Linked DNA regions of Homo sapiens: region 1 is linked to region 2. The links are contacts of gene promoters, found by promoter capture Hi-C in blood cells and fetal thymus (Javierre and others, 2016). All regions are on one chromosome and are shown on one strand. The core of a region is centred on a gene start or on the middle of the fragment in contact, and the rest is flanking DNA. Distances in the headings are between cores, read along the strand shown. Region 1 overlaps VDAC3 (voltage dependent anion channel 3). Region 2 holds the start of CHRNB3 (cholinergic receptor nicotinic beta 3 subunit).

Evidence for each region. Contacts are between HindIII fragments. The CHiCAGO score rates a contact against its expected background, and 5 or more counts as called.
Region 1: a contact is called between a fragment that was not itself captured here and the fragment with the promoter of CHRNB3 in region 2, in 1 of 17 cell types (M0 macrophages). The highest score is 5.4, in M0 macrophages.

What each region holds. Positions count from the first base shown.
Region 1 is chr8:42,393,315-42,397,585 of GRCh38, forward strand. VDAC3 (voltage dependent anion channel 3) reads left to right here. Exons shown (of 10, transcript NM_005662.7): 2 at 531-570; 3 at 896-964; 4 at 1,770-1,819. The coding sequence starts at 898. Among named protein-coding and RNA genes, the nearest start is that of VDAC3, 3.6 kb to the left of the region's middle. The HindIII fragment of the contact is 3,477 bases long and covers 1-3,378 here.
Region 2 is chr8:42,694,890-42,698,934 of GRCh38, forward strand. It overlaps CHRNB3 (cholinergic receptor nicotinic beta 3 subunit), which reads left to right and starts at 2,477. Exons shown (of 6, transcript NM_000749.5): 1 at 2,477-2,709. The coding sequence starts at 2,658. It overlaps LOC124900250 (a long non-coding RNA gene), which reads right to left and starts at 4,002. Exons shown (of 3, transcript XR_001745887.2): 1 at 3,923-4,002; 2 at 2,437-2,611; 3 at 1,609-1,686. The HindIII fragment of the contact is 9,513 bases long and covers 1-4,045 here.

The sequences.
Region 1 (4,271 bases), core at 390-2,889, 300 kb before region 2:
GTACTCTGGATTTTTCTGACATATGGGCTAATGGCACTGCTAGAGGTGGCTCTGTAATTGGTTAGACATAGCTTTTGAGTCTGCGAGAGGAATACAGAAGAACCTGCTGCAGAAAGATTTCCCATGATACAAAGAGGGCAAAGGAATGAGATAATCAGCAGTGTTGATAGCTCTGAGAATTTGATATGAGGGTCATATTACCAGTAGCAAAGCTGGGCAGATTTTTAGTAGGCAAGATGAAAAATCAAGGCACCTGAGGTTTTTGAAGGCTTTAACTTCAGAGTTTACACTAACTTTTGGTAAGCAGGTTGCTGCAGGTAGAATCTGTCATATTTCTGGTTAATGGGTAAAATTATAGCACTTTAAGAAGAGCTTTGAGAGAAGATATATTCTAGATGAATACACTTCAATTCGTATGGTAAATTCTTATTTTAAGAACTGAATTTCAGAGGAGAAAAATGTTAACCCTGAGGATTTTGATTGCATCTTTTAACAGTTTCTTTAAAAATTTCCATTGTTGTCTTATACAGGTCTTTGGTTTCATAAGAGCCTGAGAGAGATTTTTCTAAGGTAAATTTTGCATATATTTTTAAAAGAAGTCCAGTTTAACATAGCATCTTTTTCATCCTGTAAGAACTTACTTTTCTTTGAAATGCAATCAGAAAGATGACCTCTGAATCTCACGGGAAAACTGTTTTATTCTCAGTATTCTGGAAAGGTCTGTTTTTTAAGGAGCAGACTGCTGTCTCATACCTTTGATTGCATTAAAGCATTAATGATACACAGGAAGAGAAAACTGTATACCCCTTCTCACAGGATTAAACAGCAGAAGAACTGTGGGTGAATAAATACTAAATGGTTATTTTTATTCCTTTGCCCTGTTTTTCTTTATAAGATATGTGTAACACACCAACGTACTGTGACCTAGGAAAGGCTGCTAAGGATGTCTTCAACAAAGGATATGGTAAGTATGCTATTGTAACTTTCCAGTTTGGGGTAAAGGTTAGTGTTGAATGCCTACTGTGTGTAAATACTGTGTTAGTAAAATAAGGGTAAGTCAGCATTATTCCACTTCACAAGATTTAAGGGGATAACTATTAACAGGCTATTAGACCTCATTCTTTAGAGGCAGAACCCCTTACAAGCATTAAAAGCAATTATATACATATACAGATGCATATACATGTCCATATTTAATGTTATCTGGAATGTAGAATAATATATATAACATTTATGTCTCTTTGTCTGGCCCTGAGGACAATTAAATTAGGGGGTAGAACTTTTCCTCCCTCCAAACAGTGGCATTGTTTTTATGAAAGTGACAACATAACTTTTGACTTCTTTGGAGTAATGTATATTCTGATCCTAAATAAATATTTTTTAGGTTTTAAAATTTAACTTAAATTTATGTGCTGTACATATTTGATTTTTTCTTATTAACTAGTAATGTTAACTATATTTTAAACGATATATATAGCAGCACACTATTTTCAGCAATTTTGATTCTTGGAATAGTGCATATTCCTTTCATTTATTTTTTTCTTTAACTTACATTTTAAAAGTATATCTTTATTCATTTTGAGTGCTTGAAAATTATACTGCATTTATTTGGTTATAATTCAGTTTCTTGAGGAACTCTCACCCAATGAAAATACTATGCATTTTTCATATGGAAGGTACTATAGGCTATTTCATAATTTCTGAGTTGCAAAAACTAGTGAATGTCACATTTTGTACATTACTGTGTTTTTGTGTGTGTGTGTGTATAGGCTTTGGCATGGTCAAGATAGACCTGAAAACCAAGTCTTGTAGTGGAGTGGTGAGTATCTAATATATTTTTAATGAATGTAACATAATTAACTTAAAGGAATCTGTTTAAAATCATGACAGTCTAGTTACTTGAACCAGCACCATGCTGTCTTCCCCACAGCTTTGTCCTCTCAGATTTTAAACAGCATTCTTAGCCAATTAAAATAAACAACCAAGTTGAATTTTTGAAGAGACCTTTTGTGTTTCTCAGAGTATACTACAGCTTTCACTCAGAAGATGTAGAATATATATTTTTTGACCCATGTCATATGTTTATACTTTCATGAATATGTATATGGGCACCAAAAACCTCACTTCCATGATAATGGGTTCATGGAAATTTTATTACCCTTTTACAAAAACAAATTAACTTTACTCTGCCCCTTCATGATTAGTCGAAACAAAATATGTAAATAAAATGTATTTCTGCACGTATGCATGTACATTATTCTACAGTTTTTAACTGATGTTTATAAAGTTTTTTTTATTGGAAGTAAAGACTACAGTAAAGGCTATGTTGGCATATTTTCAAAGTATCATTAACAATAGCTTTTGGCTGGGTGCAGCGGCTCACACCTGTAATCCCAGCACTTTGGGAGGCCGAGGTGGGCGGGTCATGAGGTCAGGAGTTCGAGACCAGCCTGGTCAACATTCTGAAACCCCGTCTCTACTAAAAATATACCAAAAATTAGCTGGGTGTGGTGGCACGCACATAGTCCCAGCTACTCGGGAGGCTGAGGCGGGAGAATCTCTTGAACCTGGGAGGTGGAGGTTTCAGTGAGCCGAGACCAAGCCATTGCACTCCAGCCTGGGTGACAGAGTGAGACTTTGTCTTAAAAAAAAAAAAAAAAAGGCCAGGTGCGGTGGCTCACGCCTGTGATCCCAGCACTTTGGGAGGCCAAGGCGGGCGGATCACGAGGTCAGGAGATTGAGACCATCCTGGCTAATATGGTGAAACCCCGTCTCTACTAAAAATACAAAAAAATTAGCCAGACCTGATGACGGGTGCCTGTAGTCCTGGCTACTTGGGAGGCTGAGGCAGGAGAATGGCATGAACCCAGGAGGCAGAGGTTGCAGTGAGCAGAGATCGTGCCACTGTACTCCATCCAGCCTGGGCAACAGTGCAAGACTCCGTCTCAGAAAAAATTGCTTTTATTTAATAAATCTCAGCAAGTAGGTTAAGTTTTAATTTACCTTACTCTGATTTCTCCTCATTGGCTGCATCGTTTTTGGTATTTATCCATTCAAACCCATGAAAATTTTATTTCTGAATGTATAATTAGAAGGACAAAGACATGTGGAATTCTAATGATACTGTGTATAATCATGGTTTGTGACCATCATTCTTTCCCTGGGTTTCTCTGGAGTAAATAAATATATATGCACCTCCCTTACTAAGATGGGCACGCTGTGTATATAGTTCTGTTAAAATAGAAGAATCATTCTCATTTTGTGTAGGTTCCAGAATTTGCTCATTAGGTTTGTGTTGCAAAAATTATCAACTAAAATTTTATCTCCCTTTCATGCTGCTGTTGTGTGGTAATATTCATTCAGATGGTAAGAAAAAAAAGCTTATTCGTATGCTTGTTTTTATGGCTGCTTTTGGTTTCTGGTATTGATTTAGGATAAATTTCAATCATTGTTCCAAATTTCTTAGATTGTGTCTTGATATTTTTCTCATATGCTATCTACTTAACAGTAACATTTTTGTTTGTTTTGTTGCTTACTAAGCATTTAATGTAGAGCTATATGCATGTTATATGCATGTTATAAATGTGTTTTGCACTTGTTTGACCAAATTATGAAATTAGACACAAACTGAACTGTGAATCGTGAGCCTGGAACTCAACTTAGAACAATTCTAGCCTTTTTTTCTGAGATTTGTACCTGTGGCATTTTAGATTCGTGACAGACCTTCAAACTAAGAATTGATGCTGACAAGGGAGAAATGTAGACTACCCCTCTACCTTAATTTTGTGCATAAGGTTTTTCTAGCACCAAAATTAAGATTTGCATTTGTTATACTTGTCAAGTTTGTGAAAAGTAAATGTAAAAAATAAAACACTAGATAGTTGGATCTACTAAAAGAAAAATGATTGTCACGTTAAAATAATTATGTGAACAGTTAAACATGATTAACATGTTATCATTTTTTTTTTACTAAGGCCTTCCCCTAAATGTGCAGCATGATACTCTCTTTGAAACCATTCTGTGTGGTTTGATAAACAGAACATAACTTCCCAGTTGTCTCATCTGCCTGTAGAACTAGAGTTAGGGGACAGGGCATTTGTTAAGGAGAGGATTCATGTTGCAGGCAGTGAAAAAGACTGGTCAGGGTTGGCAGCATCTCATTACTGTTGGCAGGATTTCAGAAATGCTCCCTAAAACAGGACCAATCAGAATGTTTTTTCTTGACAGTTCATAGATTGTCAGTGACAGGTGCTGTCTGCTTTCCCCAGAAG
Region 2 (4,045 bases), core at 1,227-3,726:
GTGCTTGTGTGTGTGCACTGGAAGGAAGTAAAGCATTGATGGTGATTGGATTAGAATCATGGACTGTAAGTGGTCTTGAAATGTAGTATTAGGATTACACTGCTTTCATGATTACTAAATGCCAATCAGAACTTACATCTTCAATTGAAAGCACACCTGGCCGGGCTCGCACAGTGGCTCACACCTGTAATCCCAGCTCTTTGGGAGGATGAGGCAGTTGGATCACTGGAGGTTGGGAGTTCGAGACTAGCCTGGCCAATATGGTGAAACCCTGTTTCTACTAAAAATATAAAAATTACCTGCACGTGCTGGTGGACACCTGTAATCCCAGCTACTCAGGAGGCTGAGGCAGGAGAATTGCTTGAACCTGGGAGGTGAAGGTTGTAGTGAGGCGAGATTGCGCCACTGCACTCCAGCCTGGGCAACAGAGCAAGACAGCCTCTTTTCCTGTGTCTATTTGATGTCCGCTTTTCCCCCCAAAGTCTAAACTCAATGGAGAGATGATTTGAGGTTTCTACAGTGGGATGGTGAAGAGTTGAGTATCTTTGCAGGGAGAAAGGTGGCTGTAAAGTGAGACAGAAAAGAACTTCCCAAGGCATAGGAAGGGGCTGGCAGGTCCTTCTGGCAGCAGGACCGTGCCCTGCTCAGGGTTGCACTCAAGGGGTGCAGTCCTCAGCAGGCCAGGGTTGTGTGGGACCCAGGGAGGCAGGGTCCTGTTACCAAGGCCTCCGGTATTGGCAGAATCCTGGGTCTTGGCAGAATCCTTGGCATCGGAGAAGGCAAAGAGCAACCGAGCTGTTGGCTCCATGGGACCGTGTGGGTGGGGCATGGACCCCAGCTGTGGTCAAGGCAGCCTGGAGGATACAAGACTGTGCCATATTTTGGGGACCACAAAAGGCTTCCAGATTCAGTTGCTCCCCTAGGGAGAAGGCTGCAGGGCCTGCAATGACTGAGATTGGATTTCCAGCCAGTTCCATGGAAGGCTAGCTTCATTTTATTCAATTTCTTGAAAATAAAGGTGAAACTTCCTGCACACTTGGATTGGCGGTGGCTGATTTACTCCTGAGACCATTACAAATTCTCAGCAGGCTGGGAGCACAGTTGAGATGGATAGGAGGAAATCAGTGCATGGCTCCTTCCTTCCTCCTTGCATTCCCACAACGTTCTCAAGCATTTGCAGGTGTCAGGCCCTGGACACAGAGAGATACAGAGGAGACTCCAGAGGGCTGGAGACCAAGCCCTCCTGCAGGAGCTGGTGGTCTAGGAAGGGAGGCCAGGCAGGGCAGCGACATTGTGATGTGAGGGGCTCTGAGACAGGGGCCCTGAGGAACAGACAGGGCTCAAGAGCTCAGGGTCCCGGGGTCCTGGGCTAGACCTCTTTTCCACACATGATGCCTCCTTACCGAGCACCCTCTGGGTGTCTCAAACTCACTAATGGCACACAGAGGAGGGTTAAATTAAGAAATTTAAAAATTGGACTAAATCACTGCCGCTAAGACAGAATTCCTCCATGCCCTGGAGTGGGTTCCTCCAGCACTCAGTTCCCAACCAGATAGGTCTTGGCTCCCACCTGGCCCTCTTGTCTGTCTAGCCCTGACTTTGTACTTGCCATTCATTTGATGTATCATGCATTTATCAAGGGCCCTCTGGGTGTGCACAGCACTGAACTAGATGAAATCTGATCAACTGTGAAGAAGAAAGGATGGTGTTATTAGTGTCCAAGTCTCATACATAAAACACCACTAACCTCCCACCCTACTGTCCCCTGCAGTGACCAGAAGGTGGGCCTGGTGGGGTCAAGGGAGCCACAGAGAATGTGCTGATATTAACACATGTGGGAACCAGCAGAATAGGGAGGCTCCAGGACATACTCATGACTTCAGGTCCAACTGGAAAAGAGAATAGAGAGGCTGGGCGCAGTGGTTCATGCCTGTAATCCCACCACTTTGGGAGGCCAAGGCGGGCGGATCTCCTGAGGTCAGGAGTTCAAGACCAACCTGGCCAACATGGTGAAACCCTGTCTCTACAAAAATACAAAAATTAGCTGGGCATGATGGCAGGTGCCTATAATCCCAGCTACTCAGGAGGCTGAGGTGGGAGAATGGCTTGAACCTGGGAGACGGAGGTTGCAGTGAGCCGAGATTGCACCATTGCACTCCAGCCTGGGTGACAGAGTGAGACTCCATATCAAAAAAAAAAAAAAAAGAATAAAAAGAAAAAGAAAAGAGAATAGAGAAATAACGGGGATGAGAAACTTTTCACTATGGATGTGGTAAAGTGTGGTTCTTCTGTACGCAGATCTCCAACTGTAAGAAAAATAGCACAGAACATTCAGAAGTTGTCTAGTTTCATCCTTTCTCCAGTGCCCCGCATCTCTTGCAAGGGAGTAAATTAATAAGTCAGGAGTTAGGACCCAGAGATATGTTTTAGACTTACACGATCTGACAGCTGACTGCAAATCAATGAAGTGCACTTTGAGAAGCGGCACACTCGGCGAGAGGGGTTGAGATTGTTTTATTCCACTCCAGGTGTTGCTGTCCTCTTGGGTTCCACTTCGGATTTTGAACCCCTGTATTTTCTTTTCAAAACCCCCTTTTCCAGTGGAAATGCTCTGTTGTTAAAAAGGAAGAAACTGTCTTTCTGAAACTGACATCACGATGCTCCCAGATTTTATGCTGGTTCTCATCGTCCTTGGCATCCCTTCCTCAGGTAAGCACAAGTCACAGTAAATTAAAACTACAGTTGCAGAATTATTTAAGCAGAGGAGGCAAAACTATGGTGTTGATAATGTTAGAATTACAATATGTAATGCACAAGATACATTTAGGATAACCTTTAAAATGTGGCCCAAATGAGTAATTCTGTGAGATGTGGGGTTTTTTTTGCTGAAGAAATCATATCTATGATTTTCATAATGTTTATGTTTTTGTCATTTGCTGCGTTTCTCCTTCTGAATCACTATGAGCTTGGTAAGAAAATACAAAAGCAGGAAAAACATTATTGAATGCACTGAGCATTACTCAGAGAATTGTTCAAATATTTGGCACAGAAATTTACTATATCAACATTTTTCTATCATATTTACCAATAATTTCTATATCTGCATGTAGATATTTAATTTTGTCCAATATGCCCTGTAGGCCTATATATTTTAATAAATCTGTGTATGTAGGTAGATTTAGCATGTTTATATATCACAATTAAACACCAATGTATCAAAACTCTATGTGTTTTATGTGACTATTATCAACTGAAAATAGAGGAATTTTTGATAAGGATAAAGGACAAATAAAAGGAAAAAGTGAAAGATAGAGACAGAGATGCAGAGAAAGAACAAAAAGAGAAAAAGAAAGGGGAATAAAGTACTGAAAGGCTTTGGGGATTGGTCATTTGCACCTGCCAATTTCCTGGGTTTGGGAATCTTTTCACTTTTTGTGTAACTTGAGAACAGAAAGTTTTCCCCCATTGAATCAGAAACCATCTGAAACCGCAGCCAGATGGTGAGAAAAGTGTCAGTTCACTAGCAATTTGTATTAATTTCTCAGTAGTATTTTTGCCACGTTTGATTATTGTAATTTTCAAATGGAGAACTGGAGACACTAAGGGAGATTTGCCCAAATCCAGAAATAAATTCTACATTTCAAGTTCCCAAGGCTGCGAGGCACCTGAACATTATCCTGTTGTCAAAAACGCCTTTTCTCAGACCAAGGACTCAAAGTCAAACAGGAATTTCTAAATGCAGAAAGCCTCAAACTCACTTTCAAATATCATGAAATTTGGACTTTTCAAAGTCTTGAATGCAGTTTGCCAATCACAAAAATGATAAGAAAATTCTGTGTGTTTGAGCTTACCATTAATGTACGTGTGTCTGATGTTTTTCTGTCTTTATTATTCTATTTATTATAAGACAATTGATTCTTACCACTCTTTTCCCAAGGAATGATTTCTCTCAATGGTTAGCGAGGGTGTTTAGCATAAACTCTCTTGGTTCAGCTAAGTCTCGTCCTCTGTGTACAATCATGATTACATAAGAAAACTGGAATTG